Regions from separate parts of the Homo sapiens genome. Here region 1 is linked to region 2. Evidence: promoter capture Hi-C in human tissues and cell types (Jung and others, 2019). All regions are on one chromosome and are shown on one strand. The core of a region is centred on a gene start or on the middle of the fragment in contact, and the rest is flanking DNA. Distances in the headings are between cores, read along the strand shown. Region 1 overlaps DLG1 (discs large MAGUK scaffold protein 1). Region 2 holds the start of SENP5 (SUMO specific peptidase 5).

Evidence for each region. The method cuts DNA at HindIII sites, captures the fragments that hold promoters and counts their contacts. A contact is called where the count stands out against the background at its distance.
Region 1: a fragment that was not itself captured here is called in contact with the fragment with the promoter of SENP5 in region 2 in 1 of the 25 tissues and cell types used here (spleen).

The regions. Positions count from the first base shown.
Region 1 is chr3:197,225,118-197,229,281 of GRCh38, forward strand. All of the region lies in intron 4 of DLG1 (discs large MAGUK scaffold protein 1), which reads right to left. Among named protein-coding and RNA genes, the nearest start is that of MIR4797, 67 kb to the right of the region's middle. The HindIII fragment of the contact is 3,890 bases long and covers 504-4,164 here.
Region 2 is chr3:196,864,838-196,869,181 of GRCh38, forward strand. It overlaps SENP5 (SUMO specific peptidase 5), which reads left to right and starts at 3,083. Exons shown (of 10, transcript NM_152699.5): 1 at 3,083-3,236. RefSeq lists a silencer at 2,860-3,439 and an enhancer at 4,091-4,344. The HindIII fragment of the contact is 4,194 bases long and covers 1,578-4,344 here.

The DNA of each region.
Region 1 (4,164 bases), core at 1,199-3,698, 360 kb after region 2:
AGCTAATTTTTTTGTACTTTTTAGTAGAGACGGGGTTTCACCGTGTTAACCAGGACGGTCTCGATCTCCTGACCTCATGATCTACCTGCCTCAGCATATGTTGTTTTTGATTGCAGAAATCAGGTAAAAATGCACCCGCTCTTTGTTCCATCTAATATTTTATATAAGAATAACCATCTTTAAGGCAAACTACATTCATTTTATTTATATAGAACACATTACTAAATTAACCAGTTTCATTTATAGGAAATGAGTAGTAAAGTCATGGTTCTTTTGGTGTTTATTTTGTTCAAAAGCTTTCTTTCCTCTATACAATCTAAATAGCAACACAATTTAGTATCAAAATCAAAGTCTATGGCATTAGTTTAAATATTAAAACTGCCACAAGCAGTTTCTTCCATCAAAGTGATGTCAGAAACCATCTCCAGTCCTGCGTATCAATGGTGTTTCCTGTACACTTAATTCTCCACAGTAGCAACACATAAAAACCAAGTCAATAATTAATCCTCATTAATGGAAAATGACATTTTACATGCAGCTTTCATAAAAATCAGATCCTTTTCTACTATATCTTAACTGTGCACAGACCAATTCTTTACTCATGTCAGACACACAAAGGACAGGAATCTATTACATGAATTAAAGTCAATCAAACCATCTAACCTAAATTACATTTCTTTGCTGAAATACTATTGGATTTTAAAACCAAGCTTTTTAAGGAAGTATTATTCAAACCCACCTTACATCCAAACATTAAGGATATTGTGCTGTTGGAGCATGCTACTTTACAGTGGCATAACATCGGAGAAAAGCAATCCAAGTTTTTGATGCTAGGAGACATTTTTTCAGACCCTGAGCATTTAAATCGATCCAAGACTGAAATTCCAGAAAAATGCCTTTGTGCATGTTGTTTGCTGACTGTCTTGAACATTTAATCTAGATCCAAAGCATTCTTTTTAAAAAAAATTGTATTAAAATGTTGCATTCTTCATTGTTTCCACCCCCACAGCAGAGATCAGGTCGGTATACTATGATTGGAATTAAAATGCTGTTTCTTTTTCCTGCATAATAAAACTGCTTCACTAAAATTATAGTCAAATTACCAGAATGAAAGTGCTCATTTAGCACCACTTTGTCAGGGCCTTGCTAATATCCTTAAAATGTAATCCAGCATCGGATTCACCACAGAGCTCCACTTGCTGCAGTACAAGCTCTGCTATCTCCTCCATGAGAATAAGATACAACTCGAGCAGAGCCACTATGCTCAAATATATGCTGGCTGCTTTGGGGGAGGGGCAAAGATGTTGCAGCAAGGGATTCATTACACGGTTCAATAAGAGATGAGCCCAGAGCTTGTCATATGTGATGCTTTCTTACTACACCACTAAACACTGTAGTCTGATTTAAAATATAGTTTTAATGGTAAAAAGAGTACCTCAATTATCACATTTTGTAGTTTGATTCCTCTCTATAAACAATTCAAGCAACAACAACAAAAATCAATCATCTGGCAAAGTTAAGTAGAATAATTACAAATTAAACTTGGACAGTAAAAAAAGTTCAGTATTTTCTAATACATCAAAATCACTTAAAATCTGGAAAAACATTACTGAACCAATTTTGATGTATATCTATACCATATGGAAAGTTTAAAAGCAGAAAGTCAAGCAGTTTAACTCACCGACATATCACTGATTTATCCACTCTTTCAAATATTATTTTCTGTGCTTTGGCTTTTTAATCAACCCTTTGGCAGAAAAGCTATCATTAACTAATTACATTCAAAGCAACAAATAAAATACTGTGAAAATGTCATTCTTACAGTATTTTATATTTAAAATCTTGCACACAGATGTTACATCTTATGCAGTACCTTCGCTATAATTTAAATGGACAGTATTTATTGAAACTCAAAAGCTGAATTAACAAATGCCAGTAAAATACTAAATAACACACAAAGGAATATTTACTGCTTCATCTATGTAATTATCTTTTCTTTCTTCCACTATTATTTGGGTTGTTCTAAGTACTACATCTATATTGCAGTTAAGAAATATAATTGCTAATGAAGACTGTCAACTTTTACAAAACTGCCTGTAATCCCAGCACTTCAGGTGGCCGAGGTGGGTGGATCATCTGAGGGTCAGGAGTTCGAGACCAGCCTGGCCAACATGGTGAAACCCTGTCTCTAGTAAAAACACAAAAAAATTAGCCAGGCGTGGTGGTACGCACCTGTAGTCCCAGCTACTTGGGGGACTGGGGCAGGAGAATAGCTTGAAACTGGGAGATGGAAGTTGCAGTGAACCGAGATTGCGCCACTGCACTCCAGCCTGGGCGACAGAGTGAGACTCCATCTCAAAAAAAAACCAAAAAAACAAAAAACAAAAACAAGAACAATTTTACAAAACTAAAATTATCAATTCATATATTTGTACTCAACAGCCTGGTCTCTGTATGCTTAGTAAGCAAAGCTGTTTGTGGAAAAGTATACTATATTTTGCTATACACCAGAAACAGCGTGCCAAAAGACAAAAATTCCCTTACCACCAACCATAACTCTAATTCCAAACCTGCTCAAGAACACTTTTAATTCCAATTTCCTACACAATTCTCTATTCTGTTCCATTCCTACTTATGTAATTGTATAAGGGGTGAGAGAGAGAAAAAACTAGGTTACATTTCTAAAACAGTAAAGGAAATAGCTGGTTCTCCAATCTAATTACCCTGACAGGTAAATAACTGCAAATCACATGACTTGTGGAACTTAAATGAAAAGTCAAATGTCAACTGTAACTAGGGCAAGAAAAAGTAAACTGTGCTCCTTAGAAGCCTTTATATTTAAAAATACATTTACTAAGTCAGAGCCATAGTTGTTAAGCTGTGGTTCTCAGCCTTTTTCACTGCAGTGCCTCAGAGGTGTCACCAATGTTCTTTCATTTTAAAACTTTCATTTTCAAATTTACAAATTTTAATTTTAAAAACCTGGAAGCACAAATGTGTAACAAGTTTTAATACTGGTGTTTATCTATAACAATTTATTTATCCATACTACCAAGTAAACTCATTTTGTGTCAATCTCAAAATACAACTTCTCCAATTTTTGTGCACATGGAGGATTTGTCTCATTGATCATGTAGGTTGTACACGCTGAGTCTTAATAAAATTCAGTTCTGTGCAGACATGTCTGCTCCCCTAAAACTATATAAGCAAGCACATTATTTGGCACATGTCTAATAGAACAAAATGTCAGGCAAAGTTCAAGCATGTCCACTTAGCCTGTGCTCTTAATACAGTCTGCCTTATTCAGTTGGTTACACAATAAACATGTAATATATTCAACTATGATAATATTGTGCTATGATCATTTTAATGATTACTAGGAATTAACCAGTGTTTCTTGTCTGTTTTTTTAGTAAACTGAATGAATGAGTTCAACGTATACATTTTGGGTCAAAATTTACCATACCTAAAACTGCAGAAGACAGTATAAAAAACATGCATTTGATTTTGGGACCTACCAGGAAAAATGACTAATTTTGACTATTTTGAAACTCTGAGTGGATCTGATAGATTTGCACTAAAGTGTCTTAGGCTGTTCTGCTTTTTAATGATGTTATCTAACAAATCAATATCCCAGATACATTCAGCCAAATAGTACCTATCAAACTACCTAAGAAACAATATTTAAGTAATAATAATAAATAATTATTAACAGTAGCAATTGTCATTTAATAATTACTACTAGTCAGGCATTCTGCAAAGTGCTTTCATGTGTCAGAAAAATTATCAAAAGCTTGGAAAAAGAGGCAAAAAAATTGGTAGTACGTTCAATGCTGTATAGAGACAAAGGTTGTTCAAGATTATCCAGGGCAATGGTTTTCAACATGGAACAACTTTGCGCCCCCAGGGACACCTGGCAATGTCTGCTGCCCAATCGAGGAAAAGAGTCTACGGGCATCTAGTGGGTAGAAGCCAGGGATGCTACTAAACATTTTATAACAACACACTGGACAGCTTTCCACAACAAAGAATGATCTAGCCCAAAAATCAAGGATGCCTAAATTGAGAAATTCTAATTTAGGGGAATGCACACTTTAACACACTATTTACTAGAAGTCCCATCCCAGCACTTTAGGAGGTCAAAGTGGGAGGATTACTTGAGGC
Region 2 (4,344 bases), core at 1,833-4,332:
CTGGGATTACGGTCACCCACCACCACACCCAGCTAATTTTTGTGTTTTTAGTAGAGACAGGGTTTCACCATGTTGGCCAGGCTGGTCTCAAACTCCTGACCTAAGGTGATCTGCTCCACTCGGCCTCCCAAAGTGCTGGGATTACAGGCGTGATCCACTGTGCCCGGCCTGGAGATTTCTTAAATAACTTAAAACAGAACTACCATTTGATCCAGCAATCCCATTACTGGGTATACATCCAAAAGAAAATAAATTATCCTACCAAAAAAACACATGCATTTGTATGTTCATTGCAGCACTGTTCACAATAGCAATGACATGGAGTCAACCTCGGTGCCCATCGATGGTGGACTGGATAAAGAAAATGTACAAACACGCTATGGAATACTTCACAGCCATAAAAAGTATGAAGTCATGTCTTTTGCTGAAATATGAATGTAGCTTGAGGCTGTTATCCTAAGTGAAATAATGCAGGAACAAAAATCCAAATGCTACATGCTCTCAGTTATAAGTAGAAGCTAAATAATGAGTATTCGTGGATATAAGGATGGTAACAACAGGCCAGATGCAGTGGCTCACGCCTGTAATCCCAGCACTTTGGAAGGCTGAGATGGGTGGATCACGAGGTCAGGGGTTTGAGACCAGCCTGGCCAACATGGTGAAACTCTATCTCTTCTAAAAATACAAAAATTAGCTGGGTGTGGTGGCGGTCACCTGTAATACCAGCTACTTGGGAGGCTGAGGCAGAATCACTTGAACCTGGGAGGCAGAGGTTGCAGTGAGCCGAGATTGCGCCATTGTACTCCAGCCTGGGCAACAAGGGCGAAGCTTGGCCTCAAAAAAAAAAAACAAACAACAACAACAAAAAAAAACAAAACCTGAAAATCTAATATTTAAAATTAAGAACTCAATGTATAGATTTAACAGCAGATTGGAGATTATAGAAGATAGACTCAATAACCTGAAAAACAGAAAACCTTCAAACTGAATAATTGAAAAAAAAATTGACATCACAAAGTGTAAAAGACACGGTGAACAAGATCAAATAATCTTACATATGGGCTGGGTGCCGTGGCTCATGCCTGTAATCCCAGCACTTTGGGAGGCTGAGGCAGGTGGATCACCGGAGGTCAGGAGTTGAAGACCGGCCTGACCAACATGGTGAAACCCTATCTCTACTAAAAATACAAAAATTAGCCGGGCGTGGTGGTGGGCGCTTGTAATTCTGGCTACTCGATAATAATACTATTATAATAGTATTATCTACCTCAGTAGATAATACTGCTGAGGCAGGATTATCGCTTGAACCCGGGAGGCAGAGGCAGAGGTTGCAGTGAGACGAGATTGCGCCACTGCACTCCAGCTTGAGCAAAAAGAGTGAAACTCTGTCTCAATAATAATAATAATAATCTTACATATGTAATTGGTGTCTCGGAGAACAGGCATAGAGAATGCAGCAAAAACCATATCTGAAGAGATAATGATTGAGAATTTCTCAAAACTGATGCAAGACATCTACCCACAAATCAGAGAAACTCAATGATATCCAAGACAGATAAATACAAAGAAAACAAAGATAGGGCACAAAATAAATGGCTAAAAATCACTAACAGGCTGGGTGCGGTGGCTCACGCCTGTAATCCCAGCACTTTGGGGGGCTGAGGCGGGCAGATCACGAGGTCAGGAGATCGAGATTATCCTGGCTAACTTGGTGAAACCCGGTCTCTACTAAAGAAATACAAAAAAAATTAGCCAAGCGTGGTGGTGGACGCCTGTAGTCCCAGCTACTCAGGAGGCTGAGGCAGGAGAATGGCGTGAACCCGGGAGGCAGAGCTTGCAGTGAGCCGAGATGGCGCCACTGCACTGCAGCCTGGGCGACAGAGCGACACTCCTCTAAAAAAAAAAAAAAAATCACTGACAAAGAGAAACTGTTAAAAAGAAGTGAGAGGGCCTGGTGTGGTGGTTCACGCCTGTAATTCGAGCACTGTGGGAGGCCCAGGTGGGAGGATCACTTGAGCTCAGGGGTTCAAGACCAGCCTGGGCAACATAGGGAGATGTCATCGCTACAAAAATAATGATAGTAATAGTAATAAAAAATTAGCCGGGCGTGGTGCAGGAGCCTGTGGTCGCAGGTACCCTGGAAGATGAGGTGGGAGGATCGCTTGAGCCCAGGAGGCAGAGGTTACAGCGAGCCTAGGGTGTGCCACGGCACTCCGGCTTGGGCGAGACAGCAAGACCCTGTTTGGAAAAAAAAAAAAAAGAAAAGAAAAAAGAAAAAAAAATCAACAGTAATTGCAGCCATTGCTTAGAACTAAGACTAAACAAAGCTTTTGTTTGGAAAGGAGTACTTTTTCATTAACATTGTTTAGAATTTTCTGACACATGATGATAATTAAAAGCAAACCATCCTGCAGTTGGCTTCGGTATTGTTTTTATCTTCTCCACCATCAATGCATATCCTTACTGCCTACACAGGCTCTCAGCAACGCACTGTTGGTTTTCCATTGCAGTCACCTCCACTTTATTCTTCCAGATCGAGTATGTTCAAAACTGAACTCATCTTCCGCCATAAATCTGCTATTATTATGTTTTTGCCTGTCAGGACATCGGCTTATAATTTTGGAAAGCATTCACAGTTGGGGCGGGTAAGACATAGATAAAGAGGCCAATCACAATACCAGGGGTAAGATCAATAGGAAAACCAGAGAGCGGACGCCTGGGCCAGGCCTCACAACGTCCAGAGCTGGAATGGGTCTTTTGCTTTCGGCGCAGGGGTGACGGGATCAGCGGAGGGTAGGGGTGTACACTAGCTGCGGTCTGATTTAGCCCTTTTAGGTTAAAAGCTGGAGAAGGGGCTGAAGTCTCAAACGCGCTTAGCAGCTCCTGAACGCGGTTCCCATCCCAGCGCGTTCTGAGGGAGGCCGGGGCTAAGGACGCGGTGACGGGCGGGGGCGGGGCGGCCCCGGGTCGGGAGGCGGGGCGGGAGCGCCGGAAGCGGGCGGTGCCAGGCCCAGCCTCGCAGGCGGAAGGGCGCGGAGGAGGTGACGCGATAGGCCAGCGCCGGCGTCGCGGCAGCCGCTTCAGAGGAAGCTCGGCGGCTGTGGCCGCGGCGAACAGGCCGGACGCCTCGTCGCTGGCGGGGCTTCCCTTGGAGCTGACGAAGGCGGGGTCCGCGGTCCAGGCTGCTGCCGCGACGGGGCCGGCGGCGGGGCAGCTGCCAGGAACGAGGGTAGCAGGTAAGCGGGGACGCGGGCAGACGAGTGACGGACTCAGCGATCGCCTGGCGGGGCTGGCTGGGGCCATTCCCGCGCCGGTGCGCCACCTCAGCGCCCGGTCCGGAGGCCTCGAGCCGCCCTCCCCCGCCCGAGCTGGAGGCCGCCGTCCGTCTCGGCCACAGCCTCCCTTTCCGGGGGAGGCGAGCGAGCTCGTCCCGAGGGGCCGCTGCCCTGCGCTCTCGCTCCAGCCGGGCTGTGCGTCGCAGGCACCGGGAAGCTGGCGCCCCCCAGCTCCTCCTGAAGCCGGGAAAGCTCTGAGAGGAGGAGCCGCTGTCACAGGCCTCCAGCTCCGGCCGCCGTGGAAGTCCGGGGTTTTTATTTGCTTAGACCGCTCTGCCTCCTTCCGGCCTTCGTTTCTTTCCTCGCGCTCCCCGGGACCCTTTTCCAGAGAGCCCGGTTGGGCATGAGCGCGGTGGGAGACGTCTTTTCCCTTCGGTCTGCTCTGAGCGGTATCAGCCTCCGCTCTACGCCCTGTGGCCACTCTGTCGGGGTGGAGGGATGCGGAGAGGATGTGGGAGTTTTGGACTTAGAGCGAGAATAGCCGAGGTGAAATCCTACCCTGCTCTCTGGTAGTGTTTTTCATCTCATGCTAGATAGACATTTCGACCTTTTTCACCGCAGGTAAAGTGGGACTTTCTTCTACCAATGTAAATTATAATGTTTGGAGAATTAAATGAAGAAAGCAGACGTTAGTTATGAAATGTTTTGAGAATCTGGTTAAATTTAATTTAAGAATATCCAGGACACTTCATGATAGGTTCCTACTTATGTTTTTTTTTTGCATTTTGCCCGGAATAACTAAGCTTGGTATGGAAAAGGTTGCCTAGAGATGCCAGGCGCTCGTGTGGTCAGAGCCTAACTGCAGTCTCTGTTTTGGGTGGGCAGCATCAGGAAGAAACCAGACTCTCTCCTAGCCATCCACATGTCTCACGCTTATTGATGGCATATTATTGGTATATGAGGGATGGCTTATATCAGTTTTGATCTTTACTCAAGATAGCTTTTTCCCAGTGCATCTTTTCTAGGAGAAAAGCTTGGTATGTAGAGGAGGGTGCTGGGGAGGGGGGCT